Linked DNA regions of Homo sapiens: regions 1 and 2 are each linked to region 3. Evidence: promoter capture Hi-C in human tissues and cell types (Jung and others, 2019). All regions are on one chromosome and are shown on one strand. Each heading gives the region's core, a stretch centred on a gene start or on the middle of the fragment in contact. The rest is flanking DNA. Distances are from core to core; before and after follow the strand shown. Region 1 has its middle 120 kb from the start of MIR187. Region 2 has its middle 140 kb from the start of MIR187. Region 3 holds the start of GALNT1 (polypeptide N-acetylgalactosaminyltransferase 1).

The links. Contacts are between HindIII fragments. The study calls those that stand out against the background at their distance.
Region 1: a contact is called between a fragment that was not itself captured here and the fragment with the promoter of GALNT1 in region 3, in 2 of the 25 tissues and cell types used here (mesendoderm cells and thymus).
Region 2: a fragment that was not itself captured here is called in contact with the fragment with the promoter of GALNT1 in region 3 in 1 of the 25 tissues and cell types used here (mesendoderm cells).

The regions. Positions count from the first base shown.
Region 1 is chr18:35,785,477-35,789,799 of GRCh38, reverse strand. No RefSeq gene overlaps it. Among named protein-coding and RNA genes, the nearest start is that of MIR187, 120 kb to the left of the region's middle. The HindIII fragment of the contact is 7,347 bases long and covers 1-4,323 here.
Region 2 is chr18:35,759,337-35,763,896 of GRCh38, reverse strand. No RefSeq gene overlaps it. Among named protein-coding and RNA genes, the nearest start is that of MIR187, 140 kb to the left of the region's middle. The HindIII fragment of the contact is 3,837 bases long and covers 807-4,560 here.
Region 3 is chr18:35,579,439-35,583,909 of GRCh38, reverse strand. GALNT1 (polypeptide N-acetylgalactosaminyltransferase 1) reads right to left here and starts at 2,170. Exons shown (of 12, transcript NM_020474.4): 1 at 2,048-2,170. RefSeq lists a silencer at 2,429-3,128. The HindIII fragment of the contact is 13,517 bases long and covers 1-4,471 here.

The sequences.
Region 1 (4,323 bases), core at 1,204-3,703, 210 kb before region 3:
TACAGCAGTCGGACACTGCCATGACACCCAAGTGTGTGACCACTAGACTCATCTCCAGGGCAGGACCAGTTTGCATTTGTGAAACTTACATGACAAATTGTGCATGGTATAGTCTGTGTGCTAGATACATGTTACAACATGTATGGTTTCAGTTTTAGTGTGATGATTGAAATCCAAAATTATCAAAATCTGAGAAATGTAAGCATTTACTTATTTTCTAACTTCTTATTTTCAATTTTTATTCAAGCTTGTTTGGTTTAGGTTTAGCAAATTATTAAATTAGAGAAATAAAAGTCCAATTATTTATTTTTAAACCTGTGTTATTTTAACCCCATGTTTCAACAACATAGCTTGATGTACTCAAGAACTGACCAGTGATACAGAAAACCAACTCTTAGAACAGATAAAACTGGTGAATTTTTCACTGCAGTTCAAAGAATGTGTGGGTTTGCTAATGGTACAGTTCTAGTATGTGTGCAATTTGAACACGATGCCGATATGAAGAATTTAGCTCCATTACCAATCAACACAACTAGCTGTGAACTACATAAAACTATGAAAGAGGCTGAGTGTGGTGGCTCATATCTGTAATCCCAACACTTTGGGAGGCTGAGGCAGGAAGATCCCTTGAGCCTGGAAGTTTGGGACTAGCCTGGACAGCATAGTGGGACGCTCTCTCTTCAAAAACTAAAAAAATTAACAGGGTGGTGGTGCACACCTGTGGTCCTAGCTACTTGGGAGGCTGAAGTGGAAGGCTCATTTGAACCTGGGAGGCCAAGGCAGCAGTGAACCGTGATTACATCACTGTACTCCAGCCCGGGCAACAGAGTGAAGACCACCCTATCTCAAACAACAACAACAACAACAACAACAACCTATGAAAGAATACATTGTCCACAAATGTGGCTTTGAGTTTAAAGTGCGTGGAGAGAGTATTCTTGTGTTCTGACAGCTGCAATAACAGGAGAATATTCTGGAGCAGAGAGAGCAGTCATCCAGATTAAGGAGTTTGTGGCAGAATGTAAGTCAAATGCATGGTTTCATTCCGTGAGAAAGTCTTGCTACCAAAAACACTAAAACAAATCCTAAAAGACCCCCAGTGAACTGAATAGTATATCCAGTAATGAATCAAGAATTTGTGAATTACATGAAGACAAATGCACTAAAGATTTTCCTTCTTTTATGTGATAATATGTGAGTGGAACACAATAATCTCTTACTGCATGTTGAGATACAATCGTTTTGGCAGAAGTCTGTCAGGAACAAAATACAGAACAAAGTCATCACGCTTCCGCAAGATAAGGAATCCATTTGACCCAGTGTTTAAAGAGTAAACTGGACATCCAGACTTACTGATTTTTCTGATATCTCAGGTCTCTTAAATTTATTTTTTAATTAATTAATTTTTAAATTGACACACTTGTAATTGCACATATTATGAGGTACAATTTGATGTTTTGATACATATGTGTTGTATAATGATCAAATCTGTGTATTTAGCATGTTTACTACCTCATGTACTTATTTCTTTATGGTAAGAACATTCAAAAACCTCTCTTGTAGCTATTTTGTGATATACAATACCTTACTGTTCACCGTGGTCACCCTACTGTGCCATAGATGCTAGGACTTATCTTGCCTATTGTACCCTTGTACCCATTGACCAACCTTTCCACATTCTCCTCTTCTCTCTCCCCTCCCCACTCTCTGGTAACCACTGTTCTACTCTCTGCTTCTACTTTATTTTAGATTCTAGATATGAGTGAGATCATATGGTATTTGTTAGGTATTTTTAATGATCTTTAAATTTTCATGTAAGGTAGGAATGCAAGAAAACATCAAAAGGCAAAACCAAAAATTAGAATTTCTACAGATTTTTATGACATGTTTTGTCTCATCAACAATAATCAGAAATGTAGTGGATGGCCTATTACTGTATACCTGCATACTTGTGAAATTTGAATTTTATTTGTATCAGATACAATGCTCACATAAGAAAACTATGGTTCTGGAATCTATTTCTTTCATCAATAGATGTGGATAATTTAAATGAAACTGTGACTTTACAGAATAAATTGAAACTGTCTACTGACCAAGGACTGAAGACAAATTTTGAAAATATAACATTATTTGCTTTATTTTTGGATAACAGTTTTAAATGAATATTCTGAGCTTGCTGAAATTGCTTTAAAATCTCTTCTGCCTTGGCCAGGTGAGGTGGCTCATGTCTGTAGTCCCAGCTTCTCAGGAGGCTGAGGCAGGAGGGTCGCCTGAGTCCAGGAGTTGGAGGCTGCAGTAAACTATGATAGCACTACTGTACTCCAGCCTGGGCAACAGAGTGAGACTCTGCCTCCAAAAAAAAAAAAAAAAAAAAGTTTTGTCTTTACTCTTTTTATATGATATGTTTGTTTTGATTATATTTATTGAAATATAATTTTATGTCTGTTGAATACAATGAAAAATTTTGACTTACATCTTGTATGTCTGGTTTTTTATATCATTTAATTTTTTTGGTAATTCACTTTTATTGTATTTTATAAAAGTATTAGTCTATGATAAATTGGAAGTTTTTTTTTAAAAAAAGCAAATCTGCCCTTCTTCCCATGAGGAGGAGAAGGCACATGGTTGTAAAACCACAGAGACCACACCTGCTTCCACAAAGACCCACTTTTCAACACTCTTGTCTCAGCTGTTCTCCCACTTCTATTTTTTGCTGGAGTATTTTAAAGCAAATCCTAGACATCATATACTTGTATGAGCAACTACTTCAGTATATAGTTTTAAAAATAATGCCTTAAAAACTCTAATCACAATATCATCACATTCAACAAAATAAGTATTATAATTCCTAATAGTATCTAATACTTGGCTTATCTTCACTTCCCTGATTATCTTGAAAACAACTTTGAGGTTGGTTTGTTCAAGTCAGGATGCAAACAAGGGCCACATACTGCATTTGGCTGCTCTGTCTCAAGTCTCCTTTGATCTAACACTTCCCTCTTCTATTTCTTTAAAACCATAAGGCTGTTGAAGAAAGAGAGTCATTTGTCCTGCAGAATTTTTCACATATCTGAATTTGGCTTACTGCTTCCAGGGACGGTCTGTTAATCTCTTCCTCTATCCCCAATAGTTCTATCTCCTGTGAGTTAGTCAAAGGCTTTATTAGATTAATGCTTGTGTGTGTGTGTGTATGTGCATGCATGCATGCAAGATTACTTCCTAGGTGGTGCCATGTATTTCCGATTGCATCAGCCCGAGAGACACCTAAGTCTGGTTGCCACCCTCAGTGACTATGACATTGATCAGTGGGTTTAGTTTTTCACCCTGATCCACCCATTATCATATCCTCCATTGACTTTTACTTAATGGTTAGCAACCATTAATTATTGCTACCTAGATCCATTATTTCACTGGGGATTTGAAAAGTGGTGATTTTCTAAACATCTCTTTCCCTCTTCATTTATTAGCTTGAATGGATTTCTACAGAGGAAACATTATCTCTTCTCTTTATTTGGTTATCTTGAAATACAGACTGTAGAAAAGAACAGGAACAATGCTCAATTTTTTCCCTTCCTTTTATAAATTTCCAGAATAATAAATTTGCACCTTATCAATTTCCCAAGATAACTGATTAATTTTGTTTTATTTTGTATTTTTTAAATAGTATCTATACGAACTCATAGATTTTATATATTTGGTATGTTTCAAAACACTGCCATCATTATTCAAATGGCCCTGTCTTTGGGCAATGGGCACCTCTTCAGGCTGGTTCTGGGGTCTATTTTGACATCAATCTAGTAGACATTAAGAGCTCTTTGTTTTCAGGCATGACAAGGTGTCCCAGGCTCATCTTGTATGCTTTCAGCCCCAGGCATGAAATCAGCCATTTTTCTACTCTGGTTCCTTTTAGTGGAAGTTGAAACTTATGAGCCACAGTCTAGGTTCTATAGCTCTAAGTCCTTTACACCCTCTTCCCATGGACTGGAAGAGCTCATTAAAGATTAAATATGTAGAAGTTTGAGGCCAAGACCATTGCTTTGATTTGAGAGTCTAGTGTACACATCACCTTCAAGGAGCCCATGAGGAGACAGACTTGGGTCTCCCAACACAATACCAGAAAATAACACTTGTACCACCCCTTAAAACCTCTAACTGGTTTGAAATGACTTCATTCATTTACTCATTTGTCCATTCAACAAATACTTTGAGCACCTATTATATCTATTGTGTCAAGCCCCAGGCATATATATATGTATATGTGTATATATATATATATATATATATGTATATATAAATGAACAAAACAGACCTAATCTCTGCTCT
Region 2 (4,560 bases), core at 1,476-3,975, 180 kb before region 3:
AAAATGAGTTAGGGAGGATTCCCTCTTTTTCTATTGATTGGAATAGTTTCAGAAGGAATGGTACCAGTCCCTCCTTGTACCTCTGGTAGAATACGGCTGTGAATCCATCTGGTCCTGGACTCTTTTTGGTTGGTAAGCTATTGATTATTGCCACAATTTCAGAGCCTGTTATTGGTCTATTCAGAGATTTCAACTTCTTCCTGGTTTAGTCTTGGGAGAGTGTATGTGTTGAGGAATTTATCCATTTCTTCTAGATTTTCTAGTTTATTTGCATAGAGGTGTTTGTAGTATTCTCTGATGGTAGTTTGTATTTCTGTGGGATCGGTGGTGATATCCCCTTTATCATTTTTTATTGTGTCTATTTGATTCTTCTCTCTTTTTTTCTTTATTAGTCTTGCTAGCGGTCTATCAATTTTGTTGATCCTTTCAAAAAACCAGCTCCTGGATTCATTAATTTTTTGAAGGGGTTTTTTGGTCTCTATTTCCTTCAGTTCTGCTCTGATTTTAGTTATTTCTTGCCTTCTGCTAGCTTTTGAATGTGTTTGCTCTTGCTTTTCTAGTTCTTTTAATTGTGATGTTAGGGTGTCAATTTTGGATCTTTCCCGCTTTCTCTTGTGGGCATTTAGTGCTATAAATTTCCCTCTACACACTGCTTTGAATGTGTCCCAGAGATTCTGGTATGTTGTGTCTTTGTTCTCATTGGTTTCAAAGAACATCTTTATTTCTGCCTTCATTTTGTTATGTACCCAGTAGTCATTCAGGAGCAGGTTGTTCAGTTTCCATGTAGTTGAGCAGTTTTGAGTAAGTTTCTTAATCCTGAGTTCTAGTTTTATTGCACTGTGGTCTGAGAGATAGTTTGTTATAATTTCTGTTCTTTTACATTTGCTGAGGAGAGCTTTACTTCCAACTATGTGGTCAATTTTGGAATAGGTGTGGTGTGGTGCTGAAAAAAATGTATATTCTGTTGTTATGGGGTGGAGAGTTCTGTAGATGTCTATTAGGTCCACTTGGTGCAGAGCTGAGTTCAATTCCTGTGTATCCTTGTTAACTTTCTGTCTCTGTCTCGTTGATCTGTCTAATGTTGACAGTGGGGTGTTAAAGTCTCCCATTATTAATGTGTGGGAGTCTAAGTCTCTTTGTAGGTCACTCAGGACTTGCTTTATGAATCTGGGTGCTCCTGTATTGGGTGCATATATATTTAGGATAGTTAGCTCTTCTTTTTGAATTGATCCCTTTACCATTATGTAATGGCCTCCTTTGTCTCTTTTGATCTCTGTTGGTTTAAAGTCTGTTTTATCAGAGACTAGGATTGCAACCCCTGCCTTTTTTTGTTTTCCATTTGCTTGGTAGATCTTCCTCCATCCTTTTATTTTGAGCCTATGTGTGTCTCTGCATGTGAGATGGGTTTCCTGAATACAGCACACTGATGGGTCTTGACTCTTTATCCAATTTGCCAGTCTGTGTCTTTTAATTGGAGCATTTAGTCCATTTACATTTAAGGTTAATATTGTTATGTGTGAATTTGATCCTGTCATTATGATGTTAGCTGGTTATTTTGCTCATTAGTTGATGCAGTTTCTTCCTAGTCTCGATGGTCTTTACATTTTGGCATGATTTTGCAGCGGCCGGTACTTGTTGTTCCTTTCCATGTTTAGTGCTTCCTTCAGGAGCTCTTTTAGGGCAGGCCTGGTGGTGACAAAATCTCTTAGCATTTGCTTGTCTGTGAAGGATTTTATTTCTCCTTCACTTATGAAGCTTAGTTTGGCTGGATATGAAATTCTGGCTTGAAAATTCTTTAAGCACGTTGAATATTGGCCCCCACTCTCTTCTGGGTTGTAGAGTTTCTGCTGAGAGATCCGCTGTTAGTCTGATGGGCTTCCCTTTGTGGGTAACCTGACCTTTCTCTCTGGCTGCCCTTAAAATTTTTTCCTTCATTTCAACTTTGGTGAATCTGACAATTATGTGTCTTGGAGTTGTTCTTCTCAAGGAGTATCCTGAATCTGAATGTTGGCCTGCCTTGCTAGATTGGGGAAGTTCTCCTGGATAATATCCTGCAGAGTGTTTTCCAACTTGGTTCCATTCTCCCCATCACTTTCAGGTACACCAATCAGACGTAGATTTGGTCTTTTTACATAGTCCCATATTTCTTGGAGGCTTTGTTCATTTCTTTTTATTCTTTTTTCTCTAAACTTCCCTTCTCGCTTCATTTCATTCATTTGATCTTCCATCACTGATACCCTTTCTTCCAGTTGATTGCATCAGCTCATGAGGCTTCTGCATTCTTCACGTAGTTCTCGAGCCTTGGCTTTCAGCTCCATCAGCTCCTTTAAGCACTTCTCTGTATTGGTTATTCTAGTTATACATTCGTCTAAATTTTTTTCAAAGTTTTTAACTTCTTTGCCTTTGGTTTGAACTTCCTCCTGTAGCTTGTAGTTTGATTGTCTGAAGCCTTCTCTCAACTCGTCAAAGTCATTCTTTGTCCAGCTTTGTTCCATTGCTGGTGAGGAGCTGCGTTCCTTTGGAGGAGGAGAGGTGCTCTGCTTTTTAGAGTTGCCAGTTTTTCTGCTCTATTTTTTCCCCATCTTTGTGGTTTTATCTACTTTTGGTCTTTGATGATGGTGATGTACAGATGGGTTTTTGGTGTGGATGTCCTTTCTGTTTGTTAGTTTTCCTTGTAACAGACAGGACCCTCAGCTGCAGGTCTGTTGGAGTTTGCTAGAGGTCCACTCCAGACCCTGTTTGCCTGGGTATCAGGCAACCACGAATGCTGCTGTCTGATTGTTCCTCTGGAAATTTTGTCTCAGAGGAGTACCCGGCCGTGTGAAGTGTCAGTCTGCCGCTACTGGGGGTGCCTCCCAGTTAGGCTGCTCAGGGGTCAGGGGTCAGGGACCCACTTGAGGAGGCAGTCTGCCTGTTCTCAGATCTCCAGCTGCATTCTGGAAGAACCACTGCTCTCTTCAAAGCTGTCAGACAGGGACATTTAAGTCTGCAGAGGTTACCGCTGTCTTTTTGTTTGTCTGTGCCCTGCCCCCAGAGGTGGAGCCTACAGAGGCAGGCAGGCCTCCTTGAGCTGTGGTGGGCTCCACCCAGTTCGAGCTTCCCCACTGCTTTGTTTACCTAAGCAAGCCTGGGCAATGGTGGGCGCCCCTCCCCTAGCCTCGGGGCCGCCTTGCAGTTTGATCTCAGACTGCTATGCTAGCAATCAGCGAGACTCCGTGGGCGTAGGTCCCTCCGAGCCAGGTGTGGGATATAATCTCCTGGTGCACCGTTATTTAAGCCCGTTGGAAAAGCGCAGTATTTGGGTGGAAGTGACCCGATTTTCCAGGTGCCGTCTGTCACCCCTTTCTTTGACTAGGAAAGGGAACTCCCTGACCCCTTGCGCTTCCGGAGTGAGGCAATGCCTCGCCCTGCTTTGGCTCGTGCAACGGTGCGCTGCACCCACTGACCTGTGCCCACTGTCTGGCACTCCCTAGTGAGATGAACCCGGTACCTCAGATGGAAATGCAGAAATCACCCATCTTCTGCGTTGCTCACGCTGGGAGCTGTAGACCGGAGCTGTTCCTATTCGGCCATCTTGGCTCCTCCCCCCCTTCAATTTCCTTAATACACTGTTGTTTATTATTTCCTTCCTCCTGTTCACTTTGGGTTTATTTTGCTCTTTTCCTCCCTAGTCTCTTATGGCAGAAGCTTAAATTGTTGTTTTGATACATTTCTTGTTTTGTAATACAATCATTTAATGCAGCAAATTCCCTTCCCACTTTAGCTACATCCCACAAGTTTTGATATGTTACATAGTTATTTTCTTTCATTTCAATATATTTTCTGATTTCCCTTTTTTAAGTGTGTGGTTTGCTTTCTTATTGTTTAGAAATTTTCCTGTTATCCTTCTCTTATTGATTTCTAGTTTAATTCCATTATAGTCAGAAAACATACTTTGTATGATTTCAGTGCTTTTAAATTTAAGGTTGGATATGTTATTCACAATATGGCCTATCTTTGTAAATGTTCCATGTGCATTTGAAAAGAATGTGTAGTCTGCTGTTGTAGTGTGTAGTGTTCTGTAAATATGACTTAATTCAAGTTAGTTGATAGTGTTCCATTCTATCCTTGCCACTATTTCTATATATTACATAGAAAGGAGTGTTGCAATCTCCAAGTATTATTGTCAGCATGTCTACTCCTTTTATATTCTGACAATTTTTGTTTTCTGCATTTTGAAGCTCTATTCTCAAGTGCTCATACATTTAGAATTGTTGTGCTTTCCTGGTGATGAATTGATTTTTCTTTTTTTTTTAAAAAAAGTGTATTGAGGTAAAATATACATGTATAATTCACCATCTTTACCATTTTAAGTGTAAAATTCTGTGGTGATAAATAATTTACATTATTTTTCCCCTTCATTCCCCCTTCCCCTCTCCCCTCCCCCCTCCCCCCTCCCCAGCCTCTGGTAACCACCTATCTACTCTTCATCTCCATGAGATCTCTTCTTTGGCTCCCACAAGTGAGGACATGCAGTGTTTGTCTTTCTATGCTTTGCTTATTTCACTTAACATAATGGCC
Region 3 (4,471 bases), core at 921-3,420:
ATTATATTAGTTAAAAGAGGGATAGGGCATGCAAGTGAGCCAGGAGCAAAACTCCAGTCAGAGTAGCTGGAGCGTCCCACTGAAAGTTACAAACAGATCTATCTTCATTTTGACTCTGGTCCCATGCTCTCTCACCTGATGTCATGAGAATTACCTTGCCTGTAACTGCTTGGGATTAACAATCAGTTTTGTTGTTGTTGGGTTTTCAGTTTTTTGAGACAGGGTCTCGCGCTGTCACTCTGGAATAGCTAGGACTACAGACGCATGCCACCACACCCAGCTAACAACCACGCTTAAGTATCCTAGCACACTCATTCGTTTATCCAACAAGCATTTATACCAAGTGCTTATTGCTTACCAGGCACTGTAAAGTCTTCAGTGATACATGGCTGGAAAAGGAAGCCACAATCTCTGCTCTCATAAAGCTTAAACTCTATTGAGAAAGCCAGGCATTTAACAAGTATTTGCATAAATGGTGAGTGCTCCCAAGAGTTTTGCAGTCTGCTGCTTAAGAGGCACCAAACAAACCAGCAGAGCAGTCATTAAACGCAGTTATCACCAGCACGCTGAACAAAGGCTTCTCAGGTTTCAAAGTGCACACAAATAACTTGAAATCCTGGTAAAGCAGATACTGATTCAGTTGATGTGCAGCGGGGCTTCACATTCTGCATTACTTGAGTCTGAGGTGACAGGGATGCTGCTGGTACACCATCCACACTTGGAATAGCAGGACTCGGAGTACCATGGAAACATCCTCAAAGGATCATGTAAAATGTCAATTCCAATAGGGCAAGGACATTGTGTCTCCCTTATTCACCATGTACCCAGAACTTAAAACTGTGCCTCATAGACAGATCGCATTCAGTAAATATTTACTGACACAACAAATGTATGTATAATTTAGACCAGGGCTGTTCAACTGTAGCAAAGAACCACATTTAGCTATGGAACACTTGAAATGTGGCTACTGTGACCGAGGAGCTGAATTTTTAAAATTTAATTTTAATAGTCACATGTGGTTAGTGGCTCCCACGCTGGACAGTCCAGGTCTGGACACAGATGTGATGTAAAGAGGACTGGACTAACAAGGTCTAGGTTTGAATCCCAACTCTGCTGCTCAGATTGTGACCTGAAAAGTTGCAACTTCTTAGGGCCTTCACTATTTCATCTGTGAAATGACAAGACCTCCTAACTCTCAGCGTTCTTGACACGATTATAAAGCAATGTATTAAACATAAGATATGATCAAAGTGACATTCTCTGCCCTCCAGAAACAGTTCAGAAAGACTACTTTGCCTATTGCCCACTTGACCAAAAAAATGCCAAGTGAGTTTGGTAGACGGGTTGGTTAGCTCAGTGGCTTTGAGAATGAGGACAAGGTCACAAATCTGGGGAGTAAGGGAACCTCATCTAGCAAGGCTGACCAGATAAGAGAAGCAATGACAATGCAAATCATCCCAATTCCTGGTAAATGCTTAAATGGGCAACGTATTGATTATGGATGAGTAAATGACATCTCATTCATTCATTCTTCCAGGAAAAGCGGAAAAGCTACTACATTACCTAAAGCCCGCTACTTCCCAACCACAAACATTTGCTAATTTAGGTCCGGGTCCTCCTCGGGGGCAGCGGGCCGGGAAGCCCCCTCCCCCGCTGCCGGCGTGTCTTCCCCTCCCCCGTGGCGCCGCGAGGGTCAGGCTGGCACCGCGGTTGCAAGTACCACACGGCCGAACCCAGAAGCCATATTTAGCTTTATTTTTGTCAATAAAACAAACTTCCGTCTTCTAAAGAAAAACGGTTCTAACTCAATGTCAAACTAGGACGGAAACTCGCTGCTCGCCAAAGCTGCCAACCAGAGACGCCGCGTGTCCAACGGCACCGGGGTCCCAGACCCGAACCCGCGCCGAGCGTGCCCGCGCCCCGGCCCCAGGCAGCGCCGGCCACAAAGGGACCGGGGACGCGGCCGCGGCGGGGCCTCTTTCTCCACCTCCGACCCGCGCGCAGCGCTGCGGCTCCGGGACTGCCCAGCCGCGGGCGATACACTCACCTCGCTAGGCGCGCGGCGGCGGCGGCGGCAGGCGTCCTCCGGGCCGGCCGCGGCGGTCGCGGCCGGTCCCGCGGCCAGCGCGCTACTCTCGGGCCGCCGTCCGCCGCGCGCTCCTCGGCCACTGCCGGCGGCTCCCCCGGCGGGCGGGCGGGTCCGGCCGGGCCCCGCTCCGCCGCGCCCGCCCCCGCCTCCGCGCCCGGCTCGGGTCGGCGGCTACTCCGGGCGCCCCGCTCGCGGGCTCGGGCGGCGCTACTCCGGGCCGCCCCGCATGCGCGCCGCCTGCCCGCTCACTTGGGGCTCGTCGCGCGGCGGGCGCCGCAGGGCGCCCGCAGGCGCTCGGGCGCGGTCCTCCCTGCGCTGCGTGCTCGGCGGCAGCGGCGGCGGCGGCCCGTGCGGCTGCGCGGGGGAGGCGGGGGCGCCGGCGCTCACCCGGATGCGCGCCCCCTCCGCTGCGGCGAGCCCACCGCGGGGCCGCGACGCTCCCCTCGGGCTCGGGACTCCGGGGTCGGGCGCGGCGCCCCTCCCGGACCGACCGCCCAGTCCCGGCCCCCGCTCACACGGCTACGGGCAGGGCCGGGCCAGGCCGAGAGGTGCCCCCGACCCTGGGTCGGGACAAAGAGGCTGCCGCAGCAAGTTAAAGACAACTCGGGCTGTTGCGCGTCGAGCAGGTCACGGGGTGGGAGGAGATGGAGGAGCCCTCACAGCGGATCGGCTCCCGGGCCGAGCGCGGGGCCGCCCCAACCCGGTCGGCTGCCTGAGGCGGCCGCGAGCGCGGGAGCTGGAGCGCTGTCAGCCGCGCTGAGCCTGCGCCTGGCGACCGCGATGCAGGAGGCCCGGGACTGAGGGAGGACGGCGAGAGCGGAGGCCCGCGACCCGCACCGCCGGGGCAGGCACCCGGGTCTCGGGGGCAGCAACGCCGGGGCCCTTGCAGAACGGGGACTGTTTGGGGAAGTGGCTCCCGCACAGTGCCCGGAGAGGGGCCCTCCCTCTGTGCCCCCTTGGGAAACACTGCTTGGTACAATTCCAATACCCAGCTGTACCCTGCCCTGAAGATAGAAGACAAAACCCTGGCTCTGTCACTCACGCGAGGCATAACCAACCATTCTTTTAATAAATTAATTTTCTACTTAAATAATTCAGAGGTTTGTGTCTTATTGCTTGCCAACCAAGAGCTGCAATAAGAGATTACTTAATATTTAAGTGGTCCCACTTTTAAATTTATATTACCTCTCACATAACCAAAAGGCTGTCCGAAAAAAAAAAAAAAAAACCTGAAGATTATCTCTGGAATTTTAGTATCCTGTTTTTGCTTGTCTACATCTTCCAAGTATTCTAAAATAAAAGTTAAAAGTTACTATTTTAAAAGTACTTATATAATATTTTGAAACAAAGTCAATCATGACTAGCCTGTTACTGTTCCACAAGGAAACTTCACTTTGGAATAAAGTTGTCATCGTTAAAAAATACTCTTATCTTGGGAGAAAAGATTGGCAAATCATATATCTGTTAAAGGACTTGTAGCCAGAATGTATGAAGAACTCTTACAACTCAGTAATAAGACTAATAGTCCAATTTTAAATGGGCAAAACAATTGAATAGACGTTTTACCAAAGATATTTAAATGATCAACAATTACATAAAAAGGTGTTCAACATCATTAGTTAATAGGGAAATGCAAATTAGAAGCACAACAAGGAAGTTCTTGACACCCACTACACTGGCTGTAGTACAAAAGACAGACAGACAATAGCAGTGTTGGTGAAGAGATGGAGAAATTAGAACCCTCATACGTTGCCTATGGAAATGTAAAATGGTGCAGCCACTTTGGAAAACAGTTTTCCAGGTTTTTTAAAAAGTTACACATGAAGTATTCTATCACCCAACAATTCCACTCCTAGGCGTATGCCTGAGAGAACTGAAGATAAATTCATACAGTAACTTGTACATGAATATTAATAACAGTGTTATTCATGATAGCCAAGAAGTAGAAACAGTCCAAATGTCCAGAAACTGCTGCGTGGATAAAATGCAGTATATGCCATACAGTGGACTACTACTCAGTAAAAGGAACGAAGTAGTCATAGAAGATACAACATAGAGGAACCTCAAAAACGATAAGCTAAGTGGAAGAAGCTAGATGTGTAAGAGCCTGTATTGTAGGATCTATTTACAGCCATGCCCCGGTCAATGATGGGTCACCTGTACAATGGTGGTCCCATAAGATTATATGCAGCTGAAAAGTTACTATCACCAAGTGAGGTAGCCTTCATAATGTCGTTGGGCAATGGGTTACCTTTTCTGTGTTTAGATACACAAATACCATTGTGTTAACAATTGCCTGCGGTATTCAGTACAGTCCCATGCTGTACAGGTCTGTAGCCTAGGAGCAATAAGCTGTACCATGTAGCCTAGGTGTGTAGTAGG